Regions from separate parts of the Homo sapiens genome. Here regions 1 and 2 are each linked to region 3. Evidence: promoter capture Hi-C in 16 types of primary human blood cells and fetal thymus (Javierre and others, 2016). All regions are on one chromosome and are shown on one strand. Each heading gives the region's core, a stretch centred on a gene start or on the middle of the fragment in contact. The rest is flanking DNA. Distances are from core to core; before and after follow the strand shown.

Region 1 (2,700 bases), core at 117-2,616, 860 kb after region 3:
AGTTCACAGTCGACACAATGAACGAAAGTAGGGCTGTGCTATAGCATCTAACCTAGTTGTGAAACGCATCTGGGGTCCTGTGGTGGGTGCCAGGGTGTCAAGGCCCAAAGTATGGGAGGTTGGACAAGGTAGGGTGTAAGGAAGCAGAACTGCCCTTTGCTCAGAAATGCCTTGCATGGGCTCTGTGCTCACTGCCCTTCACATTCTCCTTCCCAGTCCTTGTTTGGTGAGGGGTGAATGAGGCAGTCTTTGGAGAGTGGGGTCAGCCTCACCTAGGCAGGGACTCAGTTCCTCCCAGCCACAGGGAGGCTCAGGAGCTTGTGTCCACCTTCAGGAAGAACGTGGAGAAGCGCTGGTTGCTGGAGAACATGGACGGAGCCTTCTTGGTGCTGGACGAGATTGTGGATGGCGGGTGAGGAGGGGACAGTCAGGGACACTCACAGCAGGAGTGCCTTTGATAATCATCAGCCCCAGATGGCACCCAGCATGGCTAGAACTCTGACCAACTTCTCACTCCCTTCCCCCAGCATATTCCCAGGGATCCCATTCCCCTAGCCCTTCCCCTTACTAGCGCCCCACTCATGAAGATAGAAGTTGATTTCAATGTTAGCCAAAGTCAAGCCAAACAAGAGACTAACCTGATGTCAAACTATGGGAGACTGTTGAATAGGCAGGGTTTGGGGAAAATCCAGTTTGGTCTCCAATGCCCAGGGGAAGCACTGGCACAGATGCTGGCCCTCTCTGGAAGGACTTCAGACAGTCCCACCAGCCCCACATGTCCTGCTCTTAGGGCTCAATTCCAACACAAGCTAGATGCGTGACCTGGGTCAATTACTGACCCTCCCCGAGGCTTACTTTCTCCATCTTTAGGATGGAGGTAATAAGGGATTGTGGGGATTAAATACATGTGTGAGAAGATACATGTGAAGCTTGTGGTTCTCATTCAATAGATGTTGCCTCCTATTGGTATGCTAGTATATTCTTAGGAAGCTAGGAGCTCTTTTGAGAAAAGTTGGCTTGTGAATTTCCATCAGGGGATCAATATTCAGAGAGAAAAAGAAGTTCTGGCTCTGGGGCAAAGGATAATAAAAATTTCTTTTTTTTTTTTTTTTGAGACAGAGTCTCGCTCTGTCACCCAGGCTGGTGTGCAGTAAGTGGCGTGATCTCGGCTCACTGCAAGCTCCACCTCCCGGGTTCACACCATTCTCCTGCTTCAGCCTCCTGAGTAGCTGGGACTACAGGCACCCACCACCACACCAAGCTAATTTTTTGTATTTTTAGTAGAGACGGGGTTTCACCATGTTAGCCAGGATGGTCTCGATCTCCTGACCTCGTGATCCGCCCACCTCAGCCTCCCAAAGTGCTGGGATTACAGGTGTGAGCCACCATCCCCGGCCAATAGAAATTTCTTGAGCTCCTTAAAAACATACATCCCTCTATCATTACATCATTTTATACATTAGGAAACAGGCTCAAAGTTTCAAGTGACACGCCGGAGGTCTCTCACACAGCTAGGGAGTGGCAGGGCCAAGATCTAAAACCATGTGAATAGTTCCAGAGGCCATGCTGTTTCTATGGCACTGTACTGGACTGCCTGGGGCACTAAGGAATGCCTCCTGCAGATTTCTGGGACCCAAAAGGGAGTGGGGTAACGCCAGGTTTTGGGGAGCCAGAAGCATATACAATTTGGTGAACCCTCTTGAAGGAAAACTTTACACAAACACACACAAAACTATAAATGCAAAACAAGATGCAGGGCTCTGGATGGCTGTGCAAAGGAGGATGCCTGAGGTGTAAGCTTCACAAGCTTCCCGTCTCTGCCTCTGAGGAACTCAGTTTCCTGCCAAGAAAAACTGGGGAAGCGCCAGTCGGGAGGCAACGCCTAAACTGGAGCCTTGGCCTGGGATGCTCTTTCTTTATGGATTACAGGACCCCTGGTTAGGGAGCTTGGGACAGGGGGTGCTCAGCCCAAGGATGGGGACTGGAAGAGGCTCCCAAGAAATGTTTGTCATTTCCAGTGATTTAGTAACAAAGAGAAACAAAGCTTCTGCCTTGGAGGAGTCTCAGTGGGTAAGGAGGTACACTCAGATCCTGTCATCTTTGTCCTGCCGCAGTGACAGGCCCTCACGCCCATGTACCCTGTACATAACCCCAAGGCCTCACGAAGGAGCGCCTGCTCTCTGAGAAAAGCTACAATATTTGGGTCTATCAAAAGGGAATTTTTTTGTTTGTTTCTTTGTGTGTGTGTGTGTGTGTGTGTGTGTGTGTGTGTGTGTGTTTTGAGATGGAGTCTCACTCTGTCGCCCAGGCTGGAGTGCAGTGGCGTGATCTTGGCTCACTGCAACCTCTGCCTCCTGGGTTCAAGCAATTCTCCTGCCTCAGCCTCCCGAGTAGCTGGGATTATAGGCGTGCGCCACCATTACCGGCTAATTTTTTTTGTATTTTCAGTAAAGACGGGGTTTCACCATATTGGCCAGGCTGGTCTCGAACTCTTCACCTTGTGATCCTCCCACCTTAGCCTCCCAAAGTGCTAGGATTGCAGGCGTGAGCCACTGTGCCTGGCCTAAAAGGGAAGATTTAAAAAAAAAATTTTTTTTTTTTAGACAGAGTCTCACTGTGATGCCCAGGCTGGAGTGCAGTGGCGCAATCTTGGCTCACTGCAACCTCTGCCTCCCGGGTTGAAGCGATTCTCCTGCCTCA
Region 2 (2,700 bases), core at 104-2,603, 880 kb after region 3:
ATCCTGGACCCAGTGGGCCTGCCCTTCCTATTTATTTCTTAGTGAAACCAGAAAGTTTGCTGGGGCCAGTATGATGGAGCATCGTGACTGACAAATGGCTGGGATTAGTCTAATGGGTAGGCAGCTGTATATGGAGGAAGGCGATGAGGGATCAGACCATTTCCCCAGATTCCAGTGGAAACTTTGCAGGCAGTAGCTAAATGAGTCAGAGAAGATAAGAAGACTGGAGTACCTTGCAGAACACTTCCCATACCCTCCCACCTCCAGCCCCAAGGAGGATTAGGATGCAGGGAGTCTGCAGATGAAACAGTTGTTTACAAAGGCTGGAGAAGCATGCCAGGAAACTAGTCCAGGGGCAGTTTCCAGGGCCTGAGATTGATACTACTCCATCTTGAAAACTGAAAAAAAAAAAAAAAAAAAAAAAAAAAAAAGTGTGACTCTTTAGTTCTGTACTCCCTTTAGTTCTGGGAGTGCATTTGGAGTTTCCTTTAAATTCTATGTGGATACAGGATGCTGAAGGAGGAGAATCACTTGAACCCCAGAGTCAGAGGTTGCAGTGAGATGAGATGATGCCACTGCTCTCCAGCCTGGGCGACAGAGTAAGACTGTTTCAAAAATAAAACAAAAGGCCAGGCGTGGTGGCTCACGCCTATAATCCCAGCACTTTGTGACTCCATCTCAAAAAAAAAATAATAAATAAATAAAATAAAATAAATTGTATGTGGATAAATTGAGGAGAGCTAAGGTGCAACACATGAGAAAGAGACAAGGGGTGGGGGTGGGCACAGTGGCTCACGCCTGTAATCCCACCACTTTGGGAGGCCAAGGCAGGTGGATCACCTGCGGTCAGGAGTTCACCAGCCTGGCCAACATGGTGAAACCTTGTCTCTACTAAAAATACAAAAATTAGCTAGGCATGGTGGCACACGCCTGTAGTCCCAGCTACTCCGGAGGCGGAGGCAGGATTGTTGCTTGAGCCCATGAGGCAGAGGTTGTAGCGAGCCGAGATCACGCCACTACACTCCAGCCTGGGCGACACAGTGAAACTCCAACTCAAAAAGAAAAAAAAAAGGGGGCGGGCGTGGGTGCTGGGAAGGCAAGAAGGAAATAGCAGAGGAGAGACAAGGGAACTCCTGGCTTGGGAAGGCTCTTGCCTGTCCCACCTCATGCAAGCATAAGCACTCCTGCCAAGACGGGGGCCCTCCGGAGGATGTCCAACTTAAAGCTCAGATCCTGGGCAGCAGCAATGGGGAGGGGATTGGGGTATCCCAGGGCAGATGGCCTTAAGGGACCTATTTGTAGAGGCAGAGGCCCAGAGGCTGTCATATGCAAGCTGCTTAGGGTCACAAGAGAAATCCGGAGCTTCCCTGATGACCATCTTTCTTCTCCTCCTCTTTCTGACTCTCTTCTTCCTTCCACTCTCCCTAAACCTGCTGAATCCCTTAGGCAGCTGGGATCAACATAAGCTAGAAACTGATGCGTATACAAGGGAAATCGGGAAGCCTAGAAACAGCAGAACCTGGGAGGGGTACCTGTGTACAGGGCAAATGAAGGGAGCCTGAAAACAGCTGAATCTGGGGAGATGGAACTGCCTAGTGAGAGAGCAAGGGGCTTCTGGAAACTGCTGAATCCAGGGAGGCCAATTTGTATACCGGGGAAATATGGGGGAACCTAGAAACAGCAGGATCTGGGGAGACAGTCGTGTACAGGGGGCAGACAGAGGGAGTAGCCTGAAAACAGTTGAATCTGGGGAGGAAGATTCGTGTGCAGAGGGAACAAGGGGAGACTGGAAACAGCACAATCTGGGGAGATAGGATAGTGTACAGTAGAAGCTAGGGTGGCCTGGAAACTGGGGCTCTCAGGGGATGAATCTGCTTTAAATTGCACGGGGGGGTGAGGGAGCCTGGGGAATCTGATGTGGCAGGCGCGAGCAGGGACACGGGCAAGCACAGGGGTGGAGTCAGGGTGCTGGTTGCATGGAAGGGGAACGCAATGGAACTCCCTGCCTTGTAGGTTTGAGTTAGACCCCTTGGCAGCCTCTTCTTGCAGACAGGGCAGGGTAAGGGAGTAGCTCTCCAATGGGGAGCCAGGATTTCACACGGCAAGAAGAGAAGGGCCTTTGTGTGCAGTTGCTGCCCTGGTCCTAAAATGAGCAAAGCCTGGAATTCCCTAGGGGAAACAGCCCAGGAGTTGGAGTGGGAGAGGATGAGGAGGTTGAAGGAGCTTCGGTCCCCTTGCCTGCCTTCTTCCCAACCCCTCTCTGACAGGGATAGGCCTCTTTCTCCCTTTCTACCGACCAGCCTGACCTCTCCCTTCAGCAGTTCCCTTCTGAGTGACAGACAGACAAAGACAGAGCTGTAGACCATTGACTGAAGGAGGCCCCACAAAAGTTCTCTCCCAACCCACCATCCCCCCATACCCTCCCCAGAGGCCCTGAGCCAGCCAGGGCCAACAGGAGCTGTCACTCTAGTGGAGCTGCCTTCAGGTAGGTGACAGGCCTTCAGGAGGCAGGGTGACTAGGGGCTGGGAAAGGCCTGAGATTTTTGGGATTCTGTCTGTGCCTCTTGGAAACCAGAGTTTCCCAGCCGGTTGCCTCTGAGAGAGGACTTGGAAACCAGAGTTTCCCAGCTGGTTGCCTCTGAGAGAGGAAAGAGGGCAGAACAGTGGCCACTATTGCAGAAATAAAAACCTGGTTCCACT
Region 3 (2,702 bases), core at 165-2,664:
ATAGCTTGATATAGTCAGCAGTGGCAACCTTCACCATTCAAAACCAAACCAAAGTTCACTTCTTTGGGCACAGCTTTAATCAGCTTCTCAGAATGGAACAAGAACCCACACTAATACCAAAGCAGGTACAGGAAAGGTTTATACCCAGATCACCAAGTAATCAGATGGGGGAAATTTTATTCTGCTAAAATACACTCACAGCTACACACCCTAAATGGAGTGGGCCAGTCAGCCCCGGAAACCGACTGGAATAGCCATCCAAGGAGAGCCATCTGTAACATGGCTTTTTTGAAATAATTTTTAGTGCAGTGGTTCTCAAACTTGGCTGCACGGTGGAATCATCTGGAGAAGTCTTAAAAGATACAGATGCCTGGGTTCCACCCCCATTCCCAAAGTCTGATGCAAATGGTCTAAGGTGCAGCCTAGGCATCAGGATTTTAAAAAGTTCCCTGGATGATTCTAACGTGCAGCCACTGTTGAAAACCACTGTTTTAGTGGGCTGTCTCTATGGCCAGGACAGACTGGGGATAAAAATCAAATCCAGACTCTCTGACCACATTCCAAAGCCAAGATAGCTTGGTTCACAGGCCCAGATAAACAGGGGTTACCTTCATCACATCCTACAGCCACCTCAAAGAGCCTACATCATCAGGACGCCAAGCTCCCCTGGGTTCATTCATTAAACACTGATGGCGTCCACACCATACACCTGGTACTACAGAGCACTGCGGCGCGGCACCTTACCAGAGCTGGAGAAATGAATAATGCCCCGGCGGTCTGCATTTTTTCAGTCTGCAGAGGGGGAAAAAATAGTAATAATAATCCCACTGAGACCCTGGTTGTTTGCTTATAATGACGACCTTTGGTCGTCCCCTTCACCCCCGTCCGTCCTCCCTAGACCACGCTCTTCCTTGCACCGTGCCCCAGCTGAGGAGGGCATTAGAGGTCAGAGGGACAGAGCAGTGGGTCTTCAAAGCAAAGTCATGGAGATCGGAAGTCAAGGAAATGTGCCCAAGCCCCAGGAAGGAAATGTTGCGAAAGGGAATGGTCTCTCGGGAAGACTGGAGGCGGATACTGGGCAGGTGTCGCGCAGGATCCTGCCCATCTTACACAGCAGTCCCCGACCCGCCCCAGCCGAGGCAGTCAATCGTTCATTACCGTTGGTAATTAACATTCATTGATAAGGCCATATCTAGATTGCCATAGCCTCTCCCAGCACTGGGGGGAAATACCCCTCCACACTGCCCAGCCCACAACCCTGCCTATTGCTGGCTCCCGGCCCCAAGTCACCTGCACTCCTACTACCCTGCAACCCCTGCTTGGCCCACAGCGCTCGCCCGGCTCAAGGTGACAGACTCACCTCCCAGCTTTAGCCCTTGGTCTCAGCGCTCAGCTTCCCCCACCCACGTGTCCTGGACCTTCTCCATTCTCATTGGCCGTAATATCCCCGCGTCCCCATTGGTTGACGTCATCGATTCCCCACTCTTATTGGCTTTCCGCAGCTGCTTCCTCTCCCTCCACAGGAGCTTCGTGGCAATTCCCGCCTCCATGCGGATAGAGGCGGGGCTTTCCTACGAGATCTGGATTACGATTGGCCGATCCCTGAAACGCTCGACCATAGAGTTGGCGGGACTCAGAGGTTCCATAACCTCGCGCACAAGATGGCGACCAAGGTGTACGCTGAAGAAAAAGGCGTGGGAGAGATGACGGGACGTGTGACGCAGTCAGACACATGACTTTGGCCCCGAGCCTTCATTCGGGCGCTTGGGCCACGGGGCGCGTTGCATGTTGGGATTGGTAGTTGCGCTGAGGGGGGGGGCCCAAGGACAGCTGAGATCCCGCGAGATATTCTAGGCCGGGAGAGCCGATGCCTTTGCAGTAATTCCCACCGTGGAGGTTTGTGGAAAGACCGCTTTCCATGGAGAGTAAAGGCCGGCTGGAAAGTCCCCAAGCGGTGAGCGCAGTTTTGTGGACCTCAGCCGGTGTTCAGCAGTCATGGACTATCATCCAGATGGCTTTCTAAAACATTTGTTGGGCCGGGTGCAGTGGCTCACGCCTGTAATCCCAGCACTTTGGGAGGCCGAGGCGGGCGGATCACCTGAGGTCAGGAGTTCGAGATCAGCCTGACCAGCATGGTGAAACCCCGTCTCTACTAAGAATACAAAAATTAGCCGGGCATGGTGGTGGCGCGTGCCTGTAATCCCAGCTACTTGGGAGGCTGAGGCAGGAGAATCGCTTGAACCCGGGAGGCCGAGGTTGCAGGGAGCCGAGATCGCGCCACTGCACTCCAGCCTGGGCAACTGAGCAGGATTCCGTCTCGGGGGAAAAAACAAACAAAAAAATTGTTTATTTTGTAAAAACAACACTGAAAGAATGAAATAATATCCCTATAGAAAAACGAGCAAAGGATAGGAACAGGCAATTCAGTAAGGAAGAAATATGAATTGCAGGAACGAATGTCAGCCTTCCTAATCAAAGAAATATAAGTTTAAACGCTCCGCTTAGTACTGCTCAAAACAGCAGAGTTCTTTTTATTAATGTGAGCCACACGCTCTCCTATATTGCTGGTGAGAGGATGAATTAGAAAACCTTCCTTGAAAGCAGTTTGGCAATATTTATTTTTATTCAAAGGCTGTGAATGGGCCATCCTCTTTGACCCAGTAATTCTTGAGTAACTAAGAGCCTTTAAGCTCTCCATCCAC

What was found. Contacts are between HindIII fragments. The CHiCAGO score rates a contact against its expected background, and 5 or more counts as called.
Region 1: a contact is called between a fragment that was not itself captured here and the fragment with the promoter of ATP5MC1 in region 3, in 1 of 17 cell types (neutrophils). The highest score is 5.8, in neutrophils.
Region 2: a contact is called between a fragment that was not itself captured here and the fragment with the promoter of ATP5MC1 in region 3, in 1 of 17 cell types (neutrophils). The highest score is 5.3, in neutrophils.

What each region holds. Positions count from the first base shown.
Region 1 is chr17:48,029,868-48,032,567 of GRCh38, reverse strand. COPZ2 (coat protein complex I subunit zeta 2) reads left to right here. Exons shown (of 9, transcript NM_016429.4): 6 at 335-412. Among named protein-coding and RNA genes, the nearest start is that of MIR10226, 1.7 kb to the left of the region's middle. The HindIII fragment of the contact is 869 bases long and covers 932-1,800 here.
Region 2 is chr17:48,013,832-48,016,531 of GRCh38, reverse strand. No RefSeq gene overlaps it. Among named protein-coding and RNA genes, the nearest start is that of MIR10226, 18 kb to the left of the region's middle. RefSeq lists enhancers at 506-1,005, 1,006-1,507. The HindIII fragment of the contact is 3,187 bases long and covers 1-2,700 here.
Region 3 is chr17:48,891,499-48,894,200 of GRCh38, reverse strand. ATP5MC1 (ATP synthase membrane subunit c locus 1) reads right to left here and starts at 1,414. Exons shown (of 5, transcript NM_005175.3): 1 at 1,291-1,414; 2 at 745-792. The coding sequence starts at 783. It overlaps LOC105371814 (a long non-coding RNA gene), which reads left to right. Exons shown (of 4, transcript NR_135674.1): 2 at 1,524-1,954. RefSeq lists enhancers at 612-661, 702-811, 1,392-1,511, 1,522-1,981, 1,619-2,598. The HindIII fragment of the contact is 10,294 bases long and covers 1-2,702 here.